7 separate regions of the Homo sapiens genome follow, and all the other regions are linked to region 1. The links are contacts of gene promoters, found by promoter capture Hi-C in blood cells and fetal thymus (Javierre and others, 2016). All regions are on one chromosome and are shown on one strand. Each heading gives the region's core, a stretch centred on a gene start or on the middle of the fragment in contact. The rest is flanking DNA. Distances are from core to core; before and after follow the strand shown. Region 1 holds the start of FANCL (FA complementation group L). Region 2 holds the start of LOC105377628 (a long non-coding RNA gene). Region 3 has its middle 230 kb from the start of VRK2. Region 4 has its middle 180 kb from the start of VRK2. Region 5 has its middle 160 kb from the start of VRK2. Region 6 has its middle 140 kb from the start of VRK2. Region 7 has its middle 120 kb from the start of VRK2.

Region 1 (3,502 bases), core at 640-3,139:
GAAAGTGTGGTGGTGGGGAAGTTTAACATACTGGATACAATAAAGATCTTAATTCACAGATAAATTATAAAGTGCTTGAAGTAAGGGACTATATGTTCTCTTAATCTTTGTGTTGATCCCACTTTTGCACAGCCTCTACTTTATTCTTATAGGAAAACATGTAGCATGGCCGTCCTTAATTACCGAGTTGCAAAATAAAGCAGGTGTTATGTCCTGCCCCTGCAGAGATCCTCAAACCTTAGCATGCATCAGAATCACCTGGAGAGCTTGTTAAAACGCAGACTGCTGAGCCCTATTGCCAGTGTTTGGGATTCCCGAGGTTTGAAATAGGGGCCTGTAGGGAATGAGAAACATCTTTCTTTCCTGTTGCTAGATTCCTGTTTGAGTCCCTTATAAGAAAAGACAGATTAATAAGAGAAAAGCGTGCAAATTTATTTAAGTTTTATGTGGCATGGGAGCCTTCAGAGATGAAGCCCAAAGAAACAGGAAAACCTGTGCATTTTTAGAAGGAACAGTGGACAGTTGTGGGGAAGTACGGTTGGACAAAGCATGGTCTAATGGTAATAAACTGGGGTAAGTTGTCAAAGGTCTTTTTGTTCAGATTCTTTTCTATGTCTCCGTTTCTTTAGAGATAAGGATATTTCTTTCCTGTGGGTATAGGAAGAGCACCTCTGGATTGAGGATCCAATGACCCGCCTCAGGGAAGAAGGATGGGAGAAGGTCAGAGAGTGATCTTAGGTTTTGTTGTTTTCTCAAATGTCAAGGGGCCATATTTTGGGGTAGCATATCCTGAACCCCATCAGCGGTGAAAACTTGTATTTCTACATAGTTCCCAGGTGATGCTGTTGCTAGGTTCTAGGATCACGTTTTGAGAACCACTGCTTTAATGTAATTTATATCTAACCACTGCTCCAGCATTCTTTTCTGTAAGCATCCAGAATGCTGTGACAAATTCTTGTCAAACTTTAAGAATCTTCAGGATGTCAAATTCTGTCTTGAGGTCAATAAAGATGGGTAGGGGACGAAATAATCTTTGCTCAACCTTTGGCACATTACAATGATGTTTTTCAAATAGTAGGGCTCAAACGTGATGCATTGGAAAATTGGAAAATTGGAAAATCAAATAATCATATGGTAAATATTTTAGTAGGTTTCTTATTTAATCAACTCTTAATAAGATGGGATGGATAACATTCCTGAGTTAGAAAAACATATTGCAAGCGCTGTCAGAGGAAAATTAAGTTCAAGTCCATCAGCAATCTTTACTCATGTTTTGCTTTATATATTTGTGAGTGCCGTACACAGAACTGAGTCCAGTGTTGACTTGAGTCTAATCAATACACATATACGTATACATGTGTGTGCCTCAAATATATCTGATTGAACTTAGTAAGCCACAGAACTGTAATATATATGATATAATCAATGTGTTATACATTATATTACAATAATTATACACAAAATAATACATTATTCTGTATGTTAAGGGAGAGAGGACAACAGCAAAGAAGACAGAGTGCTACAACGTCCAGGCTGTAAAAGTCATTTTATTCTGGAGGAAATGCAACACCAAAGTTGTAACAGTCTTTCAATAAAGTAAAACAGAATCATCGAAAGGGCTCCTGGGACAATTGAGGCTAGAATGATCTTGGTCAGTCAGTCCTGTGGACTTGAGGGCAATCTTCCCTCCCACTACCGGTTGGGGAGCCCTGATGTCGCCTCCCGCAGAGCGCCACTTGGCCTGGCCTGCGCTTCACCTTCATTTCCGCCCGCGGAATCCTCCAGGATCTTCCCGCCAAGGCTGGGGTTTCCGCTCCGCGGCGTCCGAGCGCCAGCGGACTGCGCATGTGCAGGACCCAGCAGGTCTAGAGCTTTTCTGTGTTTCTCCGGACTTCGAGCCATGGCGGTGACGGAAGCGAGCCTGTTGCGCCAGTGCCCCCTGCTTCTGCCCCAGAACCGGTCGAAAACCGTGTATGAGGGATTCATCTCGGCTCAGGTACCCGCCCAGTGGTTGCTTTCTAGCTAAGAGAGCCTCTTGCAGCGTAGCTGCGCGGAGAAGTCTGTGACGGGCTAGGAGGTTAGGGGCCCAGACTTGTGGGGATTGAGAGGGGCGGCGCGTAACGGCTCTTGGGAGACTAAAGGTTTGAGAAGCGCCGCTGTCGCCGCCACCCCGGTGGTCGCCGCGCTGGATGGGGAGCGAGGAGGCGCGCGGCGTGGAGCGGGGCTGGGGCCACGCCTCCTCTCTCCCTAGCCCTTCCCCGAGTTTGGCTTCCTTCTTCGTTCAGTGTCCCGCAATTGACTGTTTTTTAATTTTTTTTTTGTAAATTTTGCCTTAACTCGATTTTAACACCCTCCACCTCCACGGATGTTGATGAGTTCACTCGGGAATCTGGGCTAATTATTTTCGTGTTTCCTGTAGAAAGAACATTTGGGAAGAAAACCTTATTTTGGCCCTTTGCCAAGTCGTATGTACCTGTACACCCACAGTTACAATATCTTCTAGGAGAAGCATGACAGCAATGGAATTAATTAACTTTGCTGATTCCAGTGGCCTCTCATATGGAGTTTATTACACATACTAACACATGTGTAGGGTTTTGAAGTTTACAAAGCGCTTTCCAGGTAAATAGTTCACTTAATCCTCAGCCCTTTGAGGCAGAAATTTTTAAAAGAATCATCATTCCCATTTTCTAGTTGAAGAAATCAAGGTATGGGAAACCGGAGACGTTATTTGCTGATGATCACATCAGAATCCCTTAAACGCAGGCTGTGTGATTTCAGTCCTGGATTTTTTTCTCTTTACATTGCACCAGGATACCTTAGGTTAGGAGTGTAGACTTTTCCTTTCTGACCATTACACTCAACCTTGTGCCCACTTCCCCACCATCACGCATAGTCTTTGAGTATATGTGGAATTACCATATGACCATCACAGAAAGTAGAGGTTAAAAATTCATTATTCCATATGGAAAAAAGTTAATCCACCTTTCCCTCTCCAATTAGAAGTATTCTTCTTGAATTACCTAGCTGAAAATATGATTCTCTTGTAGACAACATTTAGAAAAGTTGAAAAATTTTAAGTTACTTTTTTTTTTTTTTTTTTACAGGAAGCATGTTATACCTAATTTTAGGCAAAATACTGTTATGTATGTCTATATCTGCTAAGGCCTTTTAGGAAACAAGTACACCCATTAGAATTGAGATTAGATGAAAGTTTCTTTTATGACCATTGCTATAGCTAGAATTCCAATTTGTACCTGCCTTAGCAGTTTATTTAAATCTTAAACATTTTACGTGTCTAAAAATATTTTGTATATATTTTAAATTTACAGAAAAGTAGCAAGGATATACAGTACAAGTAATTCCAGTATACCCTTTACCTAGATTCACCAGTTTACATTTTCTCCATTTTACTGATCATTGTTAAGTATATGTATGTGGGTGGGTGTGTATACACATTATTTTCCTGAACCATTTGAGGTCAAATCAGGCGTAGTTCCCC
Region 2 (3,502 bases), core at 582-3,081, 450 kb after region 1:
GATTTACTGAATAGTACCCGACAAGCACAGGCAACCAAAGCAAAAGGGGACAAATGGTATTACATCAAGTTCAAAAGTCTCTGCACAGCAAAGGATACAATCAACGAAGTGAAGACACAACTCACAGAATGGGAGAAAATGTTTGCAAACTACCCCTCTGACAAGGGATATATAACCAGAATATATAAGGAGCTCAAACAATTCTATATGAAAAAAATCTAATAATCTGGTCAAAAGATGGGCAAAATATTTGAATAGACATTTCCCAAAAGAAGACATGCAAATGACAAACAGGCATATGAAAGGTGCTCAACATCATTGATTATCAGAGAAATGCACATCAAAACTATAATGAGATATCATCTCGCCCCAGTTAAAATGGCTTATATCCAAAAGACAGGCAATAACAAATGCCAGCAAGGATGTGGAGAAAAGGGAACCTTGTACACTGTTAGCGGGAATGTAAGTTAGTACAACCACTATGGTGAACAGTTTAGAGGTTCCTCAAAAAACTAAAAATTAAGCTACCATACCATCTAGCAATTCTCCTGCTGCATATATATCTCAAAGAAAAGCAATCTGTATATTGAAGAGGTATCTGCACTCCTATGTTTGTTGCAGCATTGTTTACAATAGCTAAGATTTGGGAGCAACCTAAGTGTCCATCAACAGATGAAAGGATAAAGTAAATGTGGTACTTATACACAATGGAGTACTATTTAGACATAAAAAAGAATGAGATTCAGTCATTTACCACAACATGGGTGGAACTGAAGGTCATTATGTTAAGTGAAATAAGACAGGCACAGAAAGACAAACATCACATATTTTAACTTATTGGTGGGATCTAAGAATCAAAAATATTTGAATTCGTGTACATAGAGAATATAAGGATGTTTACCAGAGGCTGTGAAGGGTAGTGGGGAATTAGTGGAGAGGTGGGGGTGGTTAATGGATACAAAAAGAAATAGGATAAATAAGACCTACTATTTGCTAGCACAACAGGATAACTGTAGTCAATAATAACTGAACATTTTAAAATAACTTAAAGAGTGTAATTGGATTGTTTGTAACTTAATGGATAAATGCTTGATGGGATGGATATTCCATTCTTCATGGTGTGCTTATTTCACATTGCATGCTTATATCAAAACATCTCATATACCTTATAAATATATATAACTATACCCACATAAATTAAAAATAAAAAAATTAAAAAGGGAAAACCATAGGTTTGACTACATAAAAATGTAATAATTTTTGAATGGAAAAAACATCCTTGGAGAAAATAACCTAGAAAAACTATTAGCAGCAACTATTTCAGAGACATTGCATCTTCATGGTCAAAGAATTCATATAAGTTGACACCTAGAATGCTAAAATCCTAATAGAAAAGTGGACCAAGTACAGATTAGAAAAGTTACAAGATAATTTTTAACATATTAAAAAGTTCAATTTAACTAGGAATTAGATATGTACCCATAAACACACCAATGATTTAAATGAAGTTGTTGAGATTTTGTTGAATATCCTTCCAGTCTGTGTTATCTATCCTATCTGTACCTATTGCTTGATCTGTCCATCTATGTACTTACTTTGTATGTCACTCTTCATCCATTTAGCTATCCATCCATTTACACATTTTTTTTGAAAAGAGATCATAATGTATACTTTTTTTTGTTTTTTCCGTTTAACGTATTTTGAACTTCTCATATCATTGTACGTTCATTACGTTCAAATCTTTGCATCTTGTTACACTGCATGGATGTACCGTAGCTTATTCAAATGAGCTGTCTTACTGGGCACTTATGTTGCTTACACTTTTTTAACAGTTACATATTGAACATCATCACACTGATCAGATTATTTCTAAAGGTAAATTTGGAAAGGTTGGTTTTGCTGTTTAAAAAGTGTGCAAATGTTTCAGACTTTTGCTGCATATTGCTAAATTATTCACCTTTCTACCAGTAATACATCAGAGTAAGCACTCGCAAATTCTTGTAAACACTGGCTAGTATAGTTAGAATTTTATGTCAGTAAAAATGATTGGCAATATCTTACTTTTTTACTTCGCTTTTTTTGATTATTAAAGTGACAAACATTATTTTGTGGTTTTTGGTCATTTTTTGGTGAAATTCCTAATCATATCACTTCTCCCAATTTTTCCTTTGATATATTAATCTTTTCATTATTTATAAAGGTTACATTTATATTTAGGTAAATATGCCTTTGAATTATGTAGATTTTTTTATAGAGAGAAATTTTTTAAAATCTTTAATTAACAAACTTACCAGCTTTGTGCTTCATGGTTTCTACTTTCAGTGTTATAATTATAAACCCCTACTGGAAACCAAGATTATATTAACTAGAAGGAGAATATTTTGATTCATCTATTCCATTTTCCTCCAGGTTTATAGTTGGATCTTTCATTATAGAATGTATGATCAATGGGATTTTTTAACATAGAGCCTTAGAGGAAAACTCAGGACCACCTGGTTTTTAATTAAAATGAATTCTTTTAGAAGATTATATTGTGAATATAGCTTCCTAGTGACTTCCTTCTTAGTATTCAAGTTGGGCTCACTGGAAGGACTGAATTGTATTAAGATCTTAGGTTAGCATAATTATTTTTAATGTTAATGTTTTTATATATAGTGACCGAGTTATTCTGGATTTGACTAAGTAACAATATACTACTTTAGTAACTCACTTGAGTTTTGTTTTGTGAGGAAATTTTATTACTCAACATTCATATCTTAGAAGGTCAAATTATTCTAGAAGATACTGCTTTGATTTTAGAGGAACAGGTTTATTGATCTGGTGAGAAAATCACTGGTGAGTGAATCCCAAGCATTCACTAAATTAGTAAATTTAAAACATGATAACTGCTATGGATTGAAAGGTGATCCTTGTTTTGAAGGAATTGAAAAGGAAAAGTAATCAATACGTTTGTGAGAAGGTATATCAGGATGCCTGGCTTGGCTTTTTCTAAACCACATAACACTTCCCACTCTATTCTACTGGCATTGAGTGTATTATTAGTCGCATGTGTGTTTGCATTGGAAAGACAGTGAGTATCAATGCTCTATCACCAAGGACAGTGTGTTTTAATCACTTGGATCTTCTTAATAAAAAATACAGATTTTGAATTTGTGGGTTTTGACTGGACCTGAGATTCTGCATTCCTATTAAGTCTCCAGATAAAAAGCACTGTGCTGGTTCATAGACTCCTCCTTGAGTAGAAAGTGTGGAAAACTCTTGTATTGACACTTTTACTTCTCCATAAATAAAGTAATAGGTAAAACACATGAAATAGTAAAATTGCAATACAGTAAAAACATTAAACATCTTGTAAGTATCAAGTAAAGCAAATGCTTTTCTCATGTTAATGTTTCTTTGGTTACAGAAAGACCCAAGCTGAGAACCTAGAAGGGTAGAAGGAAAATATATTTTTCCTCTTTTATTATGAAAGGTAGGATCCTTTAATAATTTGACGTTAATG
Region 3 (3,502 bases), core at 308-2,807, 430 kb after region 1:
CTTAAGTATTGTCTATCACATTACCTCCTATTTATCTGGGACTTCAAAAGATGTGCATGTCTACAATGTCTCATATCCCTCTTACATTTCTGTTTTGGTTTCTTTTTTTCTTTATATATCAAACTTAAAGGTTTTCAATAACCAGTTTTTTAGTTTACTAATCCTATTTTATGATATACCTAGTCTTTTGTTAAATATATCCACTGAGTTCTTAATTTGTAATATTATATTTTGTATTTCTACCATGTAAATTCCATTTTTATAGATTGTAATGCTCTAATAAAACATATCATATTTTCATTTATTTATCTATCTTTTCCTCAATTTACTGTCATATTAGTGATAATTACTTTCAAGACCTTGTCTGCTAACTTCAATAACTGAAGCATCTCTGGATAAGCACATAATTTATTTTTGATTATCAATCATTTACTCCTGTTTCCTTGCATGTGTAGCAATTTTTAATTGTATTTTTGATATTGTGAATGATATTTTGTATAGAATCTCAAGGATTTTATCACCCACTGATGAGGGTTCAGTTTTGTTCTGGGCAATAATTGCATTTCAGGTGGATAATCTAGATTATCATGTGGAGGGTTGGTTTTAGGCTTTAATAGGGTGTGTCTATTTTGATATTGCCCTTAATTCTGTGGTATAGGCCTTACTCCTAGGGCATGGTGTTTCTAGGATCTCAAAAAAAATTCCTGGGTATTCACCAAAGATATTTTTCTTTGGCTGGGGTTGATCTCCAACATCGATCCCATTTTGTGCAATATATGAAATTTCTGTTTCAATCTAAGCCCCTCAGTAACAATTTCTGCTAGAATTCCTGAAATCTTGTCCTATGTGTGTTCAGGTTAATAGTTAGCCAAAGGCTTTAATGATACCACTACATCAATATTTTTTGCTCCTGGATTGATGCTTTCTTCTCTCTAATTTCCTGATTTCCAAACTTCAGTCTCCTTAACAGCTCTGTTTCCTCTGCCTCGTGGACTTGTAATTCTTCCATTTACAGCAGATTAGAAAATATGCCCAGGAAGAAAACAAGGGTAAATGTGAGGCTTAATTTGGCACTTCCCTTCTCTCAAGGATTGCAGTCATGTGATCTTTGCTGCCAGTGCCTCAAAACATGTTTGTTTGTTGGTTGGTTTTTAATTTTATAATTGTCTGTGGCAAAAGCTTATTTGTTTCAAATGTCCTTTGGGTCTTTGGTAAGATTCATCTTTTCATTCCCCCTTAATATTACTTTATTATACATTCTCTTTTTCCTGATCATTTATAACAGAAGACTATCAATTTCTTATTCAAATAAAGAAGTTTGCATTTGTTAATCTTCTCACTATTTGCTATTATCTTTACTATTTTCTTCCTTCAGCTCTGTTTTGTTTCTTCTTCTCTTCTTGGGATGGATGATAATCTTAATTTTAGCTTTTTAATTTTACTAATATGCACATCCAGAAATATAAATATTCTTCTTGGTTTTGCTTTAGCTATATCACTCAGATTTTTCTAGGTAGTATTTTTTAATAGTCAGTAGAAAATATTATCTATCTTCTCATAAGTACTTTAGATGTAAATATTTCTTAATTTAGAAATACATGTAATATTCTACTTTGTTGTTGATTCCTAGTGCAATTACAGTTGATTTAGAGAAAAAATGCTCTACGATATTAAACATTTGAAATTTTTCTGATTTGTCAGTACATATGAGTATATGGTCAATTTTTGTAAGTCTTGTGTCCTCAAAAAGAATGTGTAGTCTCTAATTCTATGTATGTCCAATAAGTCAAATTTATTAATTGTGTTCTTTAAATTCTAGGTTGACAATTGTTTTATATCAGTATTTTAAATATATGATATTATTCTCTTTTAGCTTCCAATTTTAGTATTAAGAAAACTTTTGTTAGTCTTACTGTCTGACTTTAAAGAAGCTTCCTTTTGAATCTCTAATTAGGTATGTATGTACACATGTATTGTACCTTTCCAGGGATCCTCTAAATATTTGCTTTCTATTATGTTTTCTTTTTCCTTGTCTTTCACTGCTTCATTATGGGTAGTTTCTTCTGATTTTTATTTCATTTCTAATTTCTTTAGTTCCTAAGTCTATTAAGTTCTTAATTTTGTCCTTAATTTTTGTCTTTGTAATTTTCTTTTCTAGAATTTTTACTTGACTCTTTATCAGATCTGATATTATGTAATATATTTACCACTTCATTTCTGAATTTTTCAAATGTAGCTTTTGTCTCTAACAAAATGAGTTGTTCTACAGTGTTAATTTTTATAGTGTCTAATAATCACAGAACCTGGATTTTCTGTAGGTCTGTAAATATTGCCCATTTTATTTTTTCTGTAGGTTTTTTCGTCTAGTCTTACCTCTTTTATACTTGGTATATTGGATGTGTACTTAAAACATTATTTTAAAAAATATTTTAAGGCTTAGGATAATGCTATTTTCGTTTATCTAGAACTTTTGTTTCCTTTTGCCTGGCACCTAGGGAAAGATAGCAATCTCTGATTTTCTTTATCCATATTCAATGTTTGAAAATTCCTGGGCCAATCAGAAGACTAAAGTTAGGCTGCAGTTTCTGTGAGAACCAGTTTACTTCTGGTTCACTTTACTCAAAATATGCAGCTCTTCACAATCTCAACCCAAAATAGGATTGGTGTAGCTGGGTTTCCACCTTAGTTGCATTCAGGACTCTTAACTTCTAAGACAAACGAAATCTTACTTAGTTTTACCTCTCACCACTTTTTTCAAGTAGACAAATGGCTTTATGGCTAAAAGCTATTCTCTCTGGACAGGTGATAGTTTTTAAACCCAGCTTGGTAGTTCCTTATTCTTCTGTTAGCTATGTAAAACTTTTAAGAAGATTGAAAGTATTTTAACTCATTGTAACTCATTATATTGTATTTCATATGGTTACTTCAAAATATTTACTCTCCCACTAATGGAAACAAAAGGTCATCTACTTTGGTTCCCTGTAGATATCGATTTGACCCAATATAACATTTTGAAAAGACCAGCTTCTGCCTGCTGATCTGCAGTAACACTCTTCTCATAAATCAAGAATCCACATATTGATTGTTTCTGGACCCTCTAAACTGTTTCACTGGACTATTCTGTCTTGCACCAATGCCACAATATTAATTATTTTGTACTTACAGTAATAAATGTCTAGCAAAGTCCTCTCACTTTGTTTATTCTTTGTTTTTCAATATACATCTTAGAATTGTCTTATTTTCATAAAAATGCTGCTGGGTAGCTGGTTGGATTATTGAATCTATATATTTGAGAACCAACTTTTTAAAATGTTGAATACAATCAATGAATATGTTATATCCTTCCATATATTTGTACACTCCAATTTTCCTTCATAACATTTGTTATTTGGCAATGCAGAAGATTTGCAAAGCTTTTATTATTTTAATTCTGGATATTTAAAGATTTTTTTACTACTGCACATATTTTTTTAAAAACTTAGTTTTTCTAATTTTTGTTGCT
Region 4 (3,502 bases), core at 535-3,034, 370 kb after region 1:
GTCAGAAGAACTTGAGCTTGGACCCTGGCTACTTATGCTGTGTATAGTCAAGCTGCTGTAACTCTTTCAGTCTCAGGTACCTTATCTGATAAATAAGTTTAATAGATTATACTTCATAAACTATTGGAAAAATTAAGATAATATATGCAAAGCATTTCACATAATACCTGAAACAAAAAGCTTACAGCCATTGTACCTTTTAATATCGCATTGTTGGGGTTCAGAACATATCAAACCAAAATATGACTAGGAGACGAGAATATGCCACCGCAAAATATACTTCTTTGGCATATTTTGAGCAGGTTATTTTTAGAAACTGTAGACACAGGAGTAGCTCTGAAAAGTTGCCCTTTTGTAAAGAAAATTTACATCTATAAAGGAAATCTATATTAGTAAAAGTATCTGTATTTGGAAAAGGGCTGTTCCTAGACCACTTTTATTACCTGAGAGACTTTTTATCTGCATAACAAGATGACATTCATTTACCATACATTTTCTCCCCTCACCCTCCCATAACTTGTCTCCACCACCCCACCAGGAGCCTCAGGCCCTAATTCCTTTCTGTAGCTCAGGATGCTATATAAGCTTCAAGCTTGATCTTCTTTGAGTCATATTTTTTTGTGGGACTCTCGTGTACTCATGTAATTAAATATGTTTTTTTTCCTTGTTAATATGTATTATGTCAATATAATGCATTGTCCACCCAAAGAACCTGCAAGATAAAGGGAAGCCATTTTTTTCTTCCCCTAGAGTACTCAGATCTGACTTTAAGCCTGGCCAGTGAAACATCTCAGAGTTGTTTTACTATCACATTTGCATTAAAAAGTTATATACTAGACTTCAAAGTTTAGGATATAGGTCCTACTTGTTTACTGATTGCATCCTTGATAAGTTAGTTATCTACAATTTGGACTAAGCCTTGCTCTGCATTGGGTCCTGTTGAAATCTATCTTCCATTCCTCCTCCTCAGCAGAGGGCAACTCCTCAGTCTTGCTGAACTAGCTGTGACATTTCAGAACTCCTGGATAATAAATCCTCCAAACTGGTTAGTGTGCACATGTGGTAGCTAATTTTTTTTCCTGACCAGTCTTTTGTATTATGAACAATCCATGTCCTAAATGCTAATTAGCTAAACTGGGGATCAAATAATTATCTTGGGTATAGAATATGATTTTTTTTAGAAGTGCTCAAATAAAATGCAAAATAGGCTAAAATCGTTTCTTTCAAGTGAGTAGAATACCTATCTTACAAATTGGCCAGAAAAGGTATTTACCTGATTGATGGTAACTGTCCTCAAAGATAAATCATAATTTAAACTTTTTAAGTGGTATTTGAAGACTGAACCATTAGAGTCAATGAGATTTGAGTGGCTAAAACTTCATGCCATGTTTTAAAGGATAAAACCTTGACCAAAAAAGTCACTGACTGTGTCTTTAGCCAAAACATTGTGGAAAATCATCTCAGCTCCTTGGGCAGATAATGTACATTGACAAAAAAGAAGCTAAATATAGTTTACAAATATTTTCTGATATTTAGGCAATATAATGCAATACTGAGCTTTAAAAAGGTAAGTCTACATGTATGTTTATTTGACAATTGAAATGTTTCAAGGAGACTGTTAGGTCCTTTCAGGTAGATAATGCGGAGAATGAAATTTATAGTTATGTCCAAACATATCTTTAGAAGACATGACATTCTCTAGTGACTCTACCATTCTAGTCTAACATGTCAACTCTTGTTCATGCCCTAGATTTTTTTTCACTCATTACCTCTCCATTTTATTTTTATGTTGTCTATTCATACTCTCCAATGTGAACTATTTGCTTTTCAAATGCACCTTACAAAAAACTGGCATCTTTATAGCTATGCTTAGGTGGTGACACTGGCTGAAAAAAGCAAGGGATTTTGAAATACGAGCCAAAATATCCTGGCATTCCAACCATCCATCAGGTACTAGAATCCGAGACCTGTCCTTAATATGTCTCTTTTTGAATACTTTTTGTGGCCAAAATGTCGTGTAAACTCAGTATCTGTTTAGGGATCTTGCTGGTAGCTAAACATGGGAATGTGGTTCAGTAGAATCGGTTCCGTTGCTTGTTATGGTTATATTTGCATATTTTCTTAAGGAAATGGTCTTAAAAAACAGGAGTCAGCCTTTAAGAGACTGCTTTTCTTTGGACATGTTGATGGAGGAGAGTTTTAGAGAAGGGGCTGAAAGCTGGAGGCGTATGGCTGGTTTCATCTTCCGTGTGCCTTTTTCACTGCCTGTCTTTAGCATCTCCGCTTCATTGCCCACGTGTCACCTGTGCTTAGCCATGAGGTGATATATCCTCTTCTATTCCAAAAACATTGATCTAAGTCTCCCTCCTTCCATTTTTTAATAAATCTTAGTGAAGCAATATAACATTCCAGGTCAGTCCTGTAGTGCTTTTCGGGCCTCGCTGGAGCGGCTGTTGCAGAGCATAGAAACTTGCTGGCACAATATTGCAAAGTGACTCTGTGGGGGCTGGACGACTTCCAGCCAGCAATGAACCACGGCCAAGAAACGCCAATATGGATAATGCAAACAAGAGAGATTTGGGGCACATTTCGATTTAACCATCTGATTTAATTGACAGAATAAATGCACCTGTCAACGGGTAATATTCTTGTGATTAGTTTTGGCTGTGATGATGAGATGATGTTAAAAGAATGTCAGAACAACCTGTCCTGGGACTCTTACAGGCAGTTTTGAGTGAGGGAAGGTCAGTTTTTAGCTAGTTCAAAGAAGCAGGATTATCTTCTTGTAATGTGAGGATATTTTATGGAGACAGTGAACATTTTATTTGGCGTTTTCCCTCTGTGCTTAGCCTTCACCACAAATCAGACAAAGTAGGGAATAGAGGCGCACAGAAGTAATTGGCTTTTGAATCAGTCTCTATGGCTACTGGGGATAGTCCTCATTTGGAAATGGACAACTCTAGGTATTAAGCTTAAACCTGCAACCGAGTGGTCTCACATTCCCCCACATTGTGGTTCTTTTTGCTACCAGAGTAAGCAATTTAAGTAGAATTTCAGTGGGATAAGGCCTTTAACTGAAGTCCTGTTTTCTTCAGAGAAATTGTAATTTATGATCTTAGACCAAGTATATTAATTAATGCTAATTTCATCATTAACCAGTTGCTGCCCAACTACAATCTCTTCTCTGGAAATTGTGCTTCTAATGTGGCTGATGACCAAATAAACAACTTTAATAATCTTCCCCAGGCTCTCTGACCTCTCTGAGCTATTTAACATTGTTGAACTTTTTCTCCTTTTTGAAAGTGCTACCTCTGTTGGCTTTCCTGAGGGAGCTTTCCTTTCATTATTCCTCTTTCTCTCTGGTCTCTTCTTCTTGGTTTCCTCTACTGATCATTCATTCATTCATTTATATTTTATTTTTTTGAATGACAAATAAGAATTGTATGTATTGTGTACACTAAGATATTTTGAAATGTGTACATATTGTGGAATGACTCAATTA
Region 5 (3,502 bases), core at 348-2,847, 350 kb after region 1:
CACAGCCCTATTCACCATTGCATTTATTTTGATTTAGTCATAACTTCAGGAATTGCCTTTTAACAACAACTACAAAAATGTGAGGGTCATCCACTTCTAATGCTGGAAACCCTGTGATAATCTGTTCCATGCATTCAAATGAAAATATGACTTCTTGGCAGAGAATAGCATTATAATGTAAAATCCCATATGCTGTTATACAGTATGTTGCAATCTGTTTTACGGCTGCCTCTATTCTAACGAGTGAATACTGCCAATAAAGCAATTGAAGATAACACTAATTGCTTATTTCTGTGATCCATAATTTTTATGGCTGCCTTATAGCTCTTTAGTCAAATAGATGCTTTTTGGCCTTTAAGATCTAGAACTCATGTACTGTAGCAATTGAAACTGGAAATGCACATGCTGGTCTGAGAGGCTTTTCTGTACTTGATTAATAGGATGCAGCAGAAAAATAATTGAAAGATGTGAAAGAAAATAGAAGTCTTAAATCAGCTCTAACAGGTAAACATTAGATTTGATCAATATTTAGATCACTTTAAATAAATAAATAATTATATGGCTGTGTATAAAATGAAATTAGGCTGTAAGGTCTTCTCTGGCTTTGATGCATTTGGGGGCCTGTTGAGCACAAAGGTGACAGTGGAAATCATGGTTGTGTGTGAGCACAGCTAACTGAGATGAAGATCACATCTGACCCTGGGCTTTGCCACATATTGACCATGTGACTGTGTGATCTTGAGCCAGTGATTCAACATTTTTGAGTTTAGGTTCCTCTCAGAAATGCTAGGATGACTCAATGGATGTGAAAGCACTTTGCTAACTGTAAAGTATTAGACACTCTGTTAGTGATTATCTGTGCCTGATCCCTGTTTGGGGCCATTATGACATGCTTTCTCATGGATAACCTTATAGAAACCCAAAATAATACTGTAGTTGTCCAAGAACATATGCAGTCCTTTGCTACTCAAAGTGCAGCCTGTGGACTGGTAGCATCAGCATCACCTGGGAGCGTGTTAGAAATGCACAATCCCAGGCCCCACCCTGGACCCACTAATCAGAATCTTCATTTTATCAAAATCTCCTGGTGATTAGTATGCACATGAAAGAATTGAGAAGCCCTGATCTAGTCTAACTTATTTCATACAAAAGAAAGGTGACATTCAGCAAAGTGAAGTGGTTCACAAGAGGTCACATAGTATGCTCAGAACTAAGCCACGATGACAGCCCAGGTCCTCTGACCCTAAGTCTAATCCATGATGTCTCCACCACAAAATACAGAGGATTTCATTTTATCTTGTGACAGATTTCATATTGACTATGTCGGCCCAAAAGTGGGTAATATATTTGTAGCCTAAAATAGGGTAAGTCTAAAAAGTCATAGGTTTCTGCTTGCTTTGGTCAAATAGTAAAATAAAAATCAAAGCAAATAATCAATAGGTTGTATTACTGAGCTTAAATTGTATGCAAAAAGTATCTAGAATACTCCTAGATTTCTATTTATAAAGTTCATTAGATACATTCTTAAATTTCTCAGATTGAAGGATTTAACATATATGCTCTTAAATTCAGAAAAGATGCAACTGCAATGATCACAGGGACCTAGTATTCAATTTTTATATTTGTATCCAGCATTCTAGCTATTATGATCTTTTTGGTAGAAAAAAAGAGATGATGATTATGTATAATAAATATATTTCTCCTATTCAAAGAGTAATACACAAAGCACTGTGCCCAAAGAGAGGTGCCAAAGGATCTTACAAGCAATAGCTTAAAAATGCTCACAATTCCCTGATAAGATATACACATAGGTATGCAGTTTTGAAAAATACCACTAGATTGGTTTCATTATACACACACAAACACACATCGTATATACTATGTTATTAGACACTCTTGTAATATTTCTTACATTTATTAAGAGTTGAATGGATGGAACAGGAAGGCATTATGTTAGGTTAAATAAGCCAGACACATAAAGACAAATATCACGTGTTCTCATTCATATGTGGGAGCTAAAAAAAAAAGAAAAAAAAATTGAACTCACGGAGATAGAGAATAGAACTGGTGCTTACGAGAGGGTGGGAAGAAAGCAGGGAAGCCCATATGCAGTGGGGATGGTTAATAGGTACAAAATACGTTAGATATAATGAATAAGATCTCATATTTAGTAGCACAATACGGTGACTATAGTTAACAATAATTATATAATTTAAAATTACTAAAAGGGTGAAATTGGAATGTTCCTAACACATAGAAATGGCAAATGCTTGAGGTCTGTATACCCCAATTACCTTGATACTTTGTATGCCTGTATCAAAATATCCCATGTACGCTGTGAATATATACAACTATTATGTGTTCATAATAACTAAAAATAAAAAATTTAAAAAAGAAGAAAGTCACTAAAGTCTATTTTTTTTTTAGAAAAACTTGAATACTATGAACCACATACACATTATTATCTCATTTAATCTTCACCAAAATTTGATGGGGTACTGTTATCCTCATTTTATAGATGTAATGAGGAGCCTGGGGTTGAGGGAGGTCAAGAAAAGAACTTGCCCAAGGATACATAGCCAGCAAGATAAAACAAAGAGAGAAAGTTAATGTGAGGTTTAAGTGGACCTCCCAAATCAAAGTTGTGACTTGAAAGTAAGACTTTTGAGTTCTAACTTCTTAAATCCTGGTTTAATGTGGTCTCTTTGGATGTGAACCTCTACCATGACTTCCTGCAGTCGTATTGAGGTGGTGGTGGCCTTTTCTTCCTTTTGTACTAAGCACATAGATCTGTGAAACCACTGGCGCCTCTTGTCTAAGGAGTCAAGGTCTAGAGGTGTCTGTAGCTGGGGAAGGAGCCTTCAGCTGCTCTGCTCTTCGCAGTCAGACATTGCCTCCCTGAAGATTCAGAGTCCAGGTTCTTGGTTCAACAATTCTACTTCTCTAGTTCTGAGATTGATAATGAACAAGTGCTGCAATAAAAAATGCCAACATACTTGAGAATATTCTTAATGAAATCAGTTTCACAGGCTTTTGTAGAGAAGTACTGAAGCTGGGGAGGGGAGACAGAGCTAGCCAAAATATTTCTAGGTAGAGCTGTGGGAGCTTTATATCCGAAGGTGCAGAACTGAAGAGACATGATTGAGAGATAAAGGAGCAGGAAGAGACAACCTTTACTAGTAATTGCAGAGACAGTCTAAATAAAGTAGCAATTAATAAGCCAAATGATAAAATGATTGATCTAGAGCTTTCTCTCTAGCTTTCTTTTTTTAAGGAAACACAAGCAAACTTCAAATGTTCACTCCCATTTTATATGACACATCCTGCTCCTTGCTGATAGCCTTATGTGTGGAACCTCTAAAGCTGTACCTTGCCAAATGTTAACTAACAGTGTATGCTGAAACCTCATTATGAAAGGGGTATAATAAGAAAATAAGGAATATTGCAACCAGCTGTAACCTATAACATTCTAGTAACTATCTTGTTATAAGAGATAAACCCT
Region 6 (3,502 bases), core at 676-3,175, 330 kb after region 1:
GTCAGATGTATAATTATAATATATCATAGAAAATAATGGGTGGCAAAAGCTGTGCAAATTGTAAGAGGCAAAGCAACATCTTTAAATCATACGTGATGTGTGGTCATCCTAATGAAAACTAGAAGAATCAACCCAAGATAAAACCACATACGATGTACAACTTTGTGCTCTGCTCCTCTAAGTTCTTTAACTCCTGACTATGCTTTTTGGTTTCTGATTTTGGATTCTTCCTTAGATTTGCCTTCCAGAAGTTCCTTGAAAATCTCTTGATCCCCTCTTGTGAATCCTTTTGGCCTTCATTCTCATATTCTCATAAACAGTCTAGCAGTCACCCACTGCTAGACTGTTTCTTAGAGCCTGTATTGATGAAATGATCTTCTGTACTTGGATTATCATGTTCTGACTTTGTTAGATCATCTTTGGCCCTGACTCCCTGTCACACCAGGCATAGCACAGAAAAAGAAATCGAGACATTCGCCAGGAGATGGAGAGATTACATTTACCTGAGTGTAGCAAGGAAGGCTTATTGGAAGCAGAGAGATTTGACTTGGCTCTTGAAGGATGAGAAGAATATGGATAGAGTCAGTGAGAAGCATCTTGTAGGATGAAGGAAATAGCATACTTTCCCCATGAGGACAATCAGAGAAGTAGGATTCTGGATGGAAGTTGTGAACTGAAGCGTGTGAATAGCCAGGGTTGGAGGGAGTTTAGGATGTTTGAAGTGGTTGTAGTTGCTCTGTTTGGAAATGCTAGTTGTTTATTTGAGCTGAGGGAGATTATGACAAAAAGCTTTTTGAAAACAATGAATCTGGCAGAGCATAGGGTGAGTTGGAGTTGAGAGATAGAAGACTATTGTGACAGTCATTGGAGATGTTCCAACATAGGCTAGTGACAACTTTGCAAATGTTAAGGGAGAATGAAGCATTAAACATGGAGTAGATGGAATTTTAAAGTCCCTTCCAGCCATAAGTTACAGAAGTAGAGTAGAATACTAGGCTATGAAGTCACATTGTCTAATTTGCATGCTGGTTCCACCACTACTGACTATCACCTTGGGTGAATTACTTAGTTCTAAAAGTCCTCAGCTGGGTGCAGTGGCTCACGCCTATAATCCCAGCACTTTGGGAGGCAGAGGCGGGAGGATCACGAGGTCAGGAGTTCAAGACCAGCCTGGTCAACATAGTGAAATCCCGTCTCTACTAAAAATACAAAAAAAAATTAGCCGCACGTGGTGGTGGGCACCTGTAGTCCCAGCTACTTGGGAGGCTGAGGCAGGATAATCGCTTGAACCTGGGAGGTGGAGGTTGCAGTGAGCCGAGATCGCGCCACTGCACTCCAGCCTGGGTGACACAGCAAGACTCTGTCTCAAAAAAATAAAAATAATAATAAAAAAAGTCCTCCATGGCTTTTCTCATCTGTAAAACAGGAAAACTTTTAGAATTTATTTCATCATATTTGTGTAAGATTTAAACAGTGTACATATGTGAAGCCCTTAGCATAAGACATCACACAGATAAGACCTCAATACATGTTTGCCTGCACTGTGCAGTTTATAGACATTGAGGTTTTAAACTGTGTTAATACAAAGGGGAGAAAATGGGCTAGGTGGAAAAAACAGCGCTGAGGTAAAATTCACAGGATTTGTAACTCATTAAATGCAGATCAAAGTGAGGCAGAGGACCAGGAGAAATTAACAAAAACTCAACATTGTAAGTAAGAGTGCTTAACTATGACGATTAGATTCCTTCTTTTCAAAATTAGAAAGGGAGGCCCCACCCCCATAATATTTTCCTTTTCTAATTGACATAGTTAAAACATATAACTTAAATTTATGAATTCAGAATACATTTTTTCGTGAACAGAATTGTTTATAAATTGCCTGCTTCTATTTTGGGGAAAAAATAAGGCATTTGACTTTTTCCCATCTGAGTAACAAATCTTAGACAAAAGTGATCTTCCCCACATTCCTATGGACACTGAACAAGCATTCAGTACTTAGTGCAACAGCATAGACTAGTGGTAGGAAGGAAGATTGTAATGAGGACGCCCAGACACTACTTTTTATCTTATCCAGGGCACATTTTAGTTTTAAGCTACACTTAGAACAAAATTATCTATAGCTGTAGTAACAGACTATTTGACAAAATAAAACTGGTTTAAGGTAATTTTAAGTACCTCGTGGCTTGTTTACTAATTACTAGAATCTTTGAGAAGTACTTATTTCTTTCTCTTTTGACTGCTGTAAGGAATAATCACATATTCAAATGTTTTTTAAAAAGTATTTCCTTTCCTTCAGTTGAAGACTTCAGCTATTTTAAATAAATTATGTCTCAAGAATATTAGTTTAATTTGTATCATGGGGGCTAATGGTATTAATTTTCCTGCATCAATTTTTTTTATCCAGATAGGTGCTATATATCAACACTTACGTACACTAGGAACACTATAGAGGCAAATAAAATTAATTCAGAATCAGATCCTGAATTTAGAATTGTATAATCAAACATGTATACAACTTATAGAATATGGAAAAATATGCTGTATTACCAATATGGACCAAAGAATAAATGCTGTATTACCAATATGGACAAAATAAATAAATGCTATATTACCAATCTAAAGAGCCATGGAAGCAGAGAGGATAGAGGGATTAAACTCCTTTGAGAAAAAAAAATCCTTGCAGGATTTTGTACTTAGGATATTGCCCAGCACAGACTGGACATTCAGTAAACATTTGCTTAATAAATGAATGATCTATAAATGATCTCCCAAATCTTTGGGGTTATAAACATAACCGTTGTTTTATGACTTCTCATGGATTCCTGTGGGTTGGAATTTGGGAATGGTCTGAGCTGGGTGGTCTTTCCTAGTGTTGTGGCCAGTTGTTTGCTACAGCTAGTGCTAGAGCTGGAGGATGGGAGGTCGAAGCAGCTGGAGGCTGCCATCATCTCTCACTCTTTGTGTAGCCTCATGGCCTCTCCATGCAGCTTCTTCTTTTGGGTGGGTTTAGTCTGCCTTACAGCATGGTGGCCTCAATGCAGTCAGACTTCTTGCAAGCTTTCAGGAACAAGTATTTTAGCCAACAAAGCAGAAGCTTCTTGGTCATTAATGACCTAGACACAAAAAGTCAATAACATCATTTCTGCCATACACTGTTAGTCAAAATAGTCACAAAGCCAGCCCATTTTTAAGGTAGGAAACACAGACCATTTCTTCATGGGAATAGTGTCCAAGTCACATTTAAGAAGGGTATGTGAGATGGAGGTATTGTTGTGACTGCCTGTGGAAAACAGAATCAGCAGAGTGATTTCAATGTTCATTTTTAAGCCACGTAATGAGTGTTTCTTACACCTTTTTGTCTTTTTTTTTTTTTAACAGAATATGTCATAAAACTCTAACAAAAATTTGGAAGTGGATTTGGAATCAGAAGTCAGAGTAGATTATTTATGAACTCTCCAATTTCTACCCAGTTTTGTGTAGTGTTTCTTTAAAATTTCTAACT
Region 7 (3,502 bases), core at 717-3,216, 320 kb after region 1:
AATTAGTGAGCTTGAAGACAGGCTATCTGAAAATTCACAGTCAGAAGACAAAAGAAAAAATAATTTTAAAAAATGAATATCTACAAGATCTATTTACAAGGTTTGCCAGATAGCCTCAGAAGGGCAAATCTAAATTATTAGCCTTAAAGAGAAGGTAGAGAGATAGGAGTAAAAAGTTTATTGAAAGGGATAATAACTGAGAACTTCCCAAGCCTAGAGAAAGACATCAAAAGTCAAGTACAAGAAGGTTATATAACACCAAGGAGATTTAACCCAAAGAAGACATTTAATAATTAAACTCTCAAAGATCTATGATAAAGAAAGTATCCTAAAAGCAAGAGAAAATAAACAAATAACATAGGAAGGAACTTCAATACATCTGGCAGCAGACTTTTAGTGGAAAACTTACAGGCCAGGAAACACTGGCATGATGTATTTAAAGTGCTGAAGGAAAAAAACCCCACTTTTATCCTAGAATTATAGATCCAGTGAAAATATCCTTCAAATATAAAGAAGAAATAAAGACGTTCCCAGACCAAAAAAGCTGAGGGATTTCATCAACACCAGACCTGTCCTACAAAAAATGCTAAAGGGAGTTTTTTAATCTGAAAAAATGAAGACATTAATGAGCAGTAAGAAATCATCTGAAGGTGTAAAACTCAGTGGCAATAGTTACACAGAATATTATAACTGTAATTGTGGTTCATAAACTACTTATATCCTGAGTAGAAAGACTAAAATATGCCCATCAGTTTGGGAGGCCGAGGCAGGTGGATCATGAGGTCAGGAGTTCAAGAACAACCTGATCAACATGCTGACACCCCGTCTCTACTAAAAATACAAAAATTAACCCAGGATGGTGCCATGCACCTGTAATGCTAGCTACTCAGGAGGCTGAGGCAGGAGAATCTCTTCAACCCGAGAGGCAAAGGTTGCAGTGAGTCGAGATCACGCCACTGGACTCCAGCCTGGGCGATAGAGCGAGACTTCATCTCAAAAAAAAAAAAAAAGACTAAAATATGAAAAGATCAAAAATAATAGCTACAACAACTTTTCAAGACATAGGCAATACAATAAAATATAAATAGAAACAACAAAAAGTTCAAAAGTGGGGATAAGAAGTTTAAGTGTAGAGTTTTATTAGTTTTCTCTTTGCTTGTTTGTTTATGCAATTAATCTTTAGTTGTCATCCATTTAAAATAATGGGTTATAAGATATTATTCAGAAGCCTCCTGGGAACCTAAAAAAAATACGACAGACACACACACACACACACACACACACACACACAAGAAATTAAAACATATTACCAGAGAAAACTACCTTCACTAAAAGGAAGACAGGAAGAAAGGAAAGAAAGAAGTCTACAAAACAACTGGAAAACAAATAACAAAATGGTAGGATTAAGTCTTTACTTATAAATAAGAACATTGAATATAAAAAAACTAAACACTCTAATCAAAAAACACAGAGTGGCTGAATGGATAGAAAAACAAGACCCAGTGATCTGTGACCTACAAGAAATACACTTCATCTATAAAGACTGAAAAAAAAAGATGAAAAAAAGACTAAAAAAAGGGATGGAAAAGATATTCCATGCAGTGGAAACCAAAACAGAGCAGGAGTAGCTTTGCTTTATCAGACAAAATAGATTTCAAGACAAAAACTGTAAAAAGAGGCCAACAATAAGGTCATTATATCATGATAAAGGGGTAAGTTCAGCAAGAGGATAAAACAATTCTCTCTCTCTATATATATACACACACACACTATATATATACACACACTATATATATATATAATTGTATATATATACACTATACACACACACACACACACACACACACACATATATATATGTATATATATATGTGACACTGGAGGACACTGGAGGACCCAAATATATAAAGCAAATATTATTAAGGCTAAAGAGAGACCCCAATACAGTAGTAGCTGGAGACTTCAATACCCAACTTTCAGCATTGGACAGATCATCCAGACAGAAAATCAACAAAAAAGCATTAGACTTAATCTGCACTATAGAACAAGATGACCTAGCAGATATATACAGAACAATTTATTCAATGGCTGCAGGATATACATTTTTTCCTCAGCACATGGATTATTCTCAAAGATACCCTATATTTTAGCTCACAAAAAAGTCTTAAAAAATAAAAAAAAGAAATTATATCAGGTATTTTCTCTAGCCACAATGGAATAAAACTAAAAATCAGTATCAAGAGAAATTGTATTAACTATAAAAACACATGGAAATTAAACAGTATGCTCCTGAATGACCAGTGGGTCAATGAAAAAATTAAGAAGGAAATTAAAACATTTTTTTCAAACAAATGATAATGGAAACAGAACATACCAAAATTTATGGGATATAGTGAAAGCAGCGCTAAGAGGAAAGTTTATAGCTATACACATCTATATCAAGAAAGCCAAAAACCTCAAATGAACAACCTAACAATACATCTTAAAAAACTAGAAAATCAAGACAGCAAACCAAATTGAAAATTAGAAGAAAAGAAATAATAAAGATTAGAGAAAAATAAATAAAACTGAAATGAAAAATAATAAATCAGAGCAGAAATAAATGAAACTGAAATGAAAAAAATTCAAAAGATCAACAAAATGAAAAGTTGATTTGTTAAAAAGATAAAGTAGACAAACCTTGAGCCAGACTATTAAAAAAAGAGAGAAGACCCAAATAAATAAAAGCAGAAATGAAAAAGAAAAAATTTCAACAAATACCACAGAAATTTGCAGGATCATTAGAAGCTACTATAAGCAACTATATGCCAATAAATTGGAAAATCCAGAAGAAATGGATAAATGCCTAGACACATACAATCTACCAAGATTGAATCATAAGGAAATCCAAAACCTGAACAGACCAAGAACAAGTAATTAAATTGAAGCCATAATAAAATGTGCAAAGAAAAGCCTACAACCCAATGGCAGCACTGCCAAATTTTACCAAACATTTGAAGAACTAATATCAATATTACTCAAACTATTTTGAAAAAATAGAGCAGGAGGGAATACTTTCAAACACATCTACAAGGCCAGTATTACCCAGATACCAAAACCAGACAAAGATATATCAAAAAAAGAAAACTTCCAGCCAATATTTCTGATGAATATGGATGGAAAAATCCTCAACAAAATACTAAAACAAATTCAACAACACATTAAAAAGATCACTAATCATCACCAAGTGGAATTGATCCCAGGGATGCAAAGATGGAGCAACATAGGCAAATCAATGAATGTGATACATCATATCAACAGAATGAAGAACAAAAATCTATATGATCATTTCAATCGATGCTGAAAATGCATTTGATAATATTCAACATCCCTTCATGATTAAAAAAAAACCCTAAAAAAACTGGAGGTGGAAGCAACATACCTTAACATAATAAAGGCCATATATGACAGACCCACAGTTAGTATCACATAGATTGGGGAAAAACTAAAAGCCTTTCCTGTA

Evidence for each region. The method cuts DNA at HindIII sites, captures the fragments that hold promoters and counts their contacts. A CHiCAGO score of 5 or more calls a contact.
Region 2: a contact is called between a fragment that was not itself captured here and the fragment with the promoter of FANCL in region 1, in 1 of 17 cell types (erythroblasts). The highest score is 5.4, in erythroblasts.
Region 3: a contact is called between a fragment that was not itself captured here and the fragment with the promoter of FANCL in region 1, in 2 of 17 cell types (erythroblasts and naive B cells). The highest score is 7.5, in erythroblasts.
Region 4: a contact is called between a fragment that was not itself captured here and the fragment with the promoter of FANCL in region 1, in 3 of 17 cell types (monocytes, endothelial precursors and total B cells). The highest score is 5.9, in monocytes.
Region 5: a contact is called between a fragment that was not itself captured here and the fragment with the promoter of FANCL in region 1, in 10 of 17 cell types (M2 macrophages, total B cells, M1 macrophages and 7 more). The highest score is 7.6, in M2 macrophages.
Region 6: a contact is called between a fragment that was not itself captured here and the fragment with the promoter of FANCL in region 1, in 7 of 17 cell types (total B cells, M1 macrophages, M0 macrophages and 4 more). The highest score is 7.5, in total B cells.
Region 7: a fragment that was not itself captured here is called in contact with the fragment with the promoter of FANCL in region 1 in 1 of 17 cell types (activated CD4 T cells); the score reaches 5.8 in activated CD4 T cells.

What each region holds. Positions count from the first base shown.
Region 1 is chr2:58,239,712-58,243,213 of GRCh38, reverse strand. It overlaps FANCL (FA complementation group L), which reads left to right and starts at 1,889. Exons shown (of 14, transcript NM_018062.4): 1 at 1,889-1,996. The coding sequence starts at 1,901. RefSeq lists an enhancer at 1,542-1,701 and a silencer at 2,242-2,291. The HindIII fragment of the contact is 7,787 bases long and covers 1-3,502 here.
Region 2 is chr2:57,785,782-57,789,283 of GRCh38, reverse strand. It overlaps LOC105377628 (a long non-coding RNA gene), which reads left to right and starts at 208. Exons shown (of 3, transcript XR_940110.3): 1 at 208-3,472. The HindIII fragment of the contact is 4,814 bases long and covers 1-3,502 here.
Region 3 is chr2:57,813,973-57,817,474 of GRCh38, reverse strand. No RefSeq gene overlaps it. Among named protein-coding and RNA genes, the nearest start is that of VRK2, 230 kb to the left of the region's middle. The HindIII fragment of the contact is 752 bases long and covers 1,182-1,933 here.
Region 4 is chr2:57,868,952-57,872,453 of GRCh38, reverse strand. No RefSeq gene overlaps it. Among named protein-coding and RNA genes, the nearest start is that of VRK2, 180 kb to the left of the region's middle. The HindIII fragment of the contact is 2,379 bases long and covers 595-2,973 here.
Region 5 is chr2:57,887,943-57,891,444 of GRCh38, reverse strand. No RefSeq gene overlaps it. Among named protein-coding and RNA genes, the nearest start is that of VRK2, 160 kb to the left of the region's middle. RefSeq lists a silencer at 859-908. The HindIII fragment of the contact is 4,477 bases long and covers 1-3,502 here.
Region 6 is chr2:57,904,841-57,908,342 of GRCh38, reverse strand. It overlaps a transcript of VRK2 not described here. Among named protein-coding and RNA genes, the nearest start is that of VRK2, 140 kb to the left of the region's middle. The HindIII fragment of the contact is 2,268 bases long and covers 792-3,059 here.
Region 7 is chr2:57,924,788-57,928,289 of GRCh38, reverse strand. It overlaps a transcript of VRK2 not described here. Among named protein-coding and RNA genes, the nearest start is that of VRK2, 120 kb to the left of the region's middle. The HindIII fragment of the contact is 5,212 bases long and covers 1-3,502 here.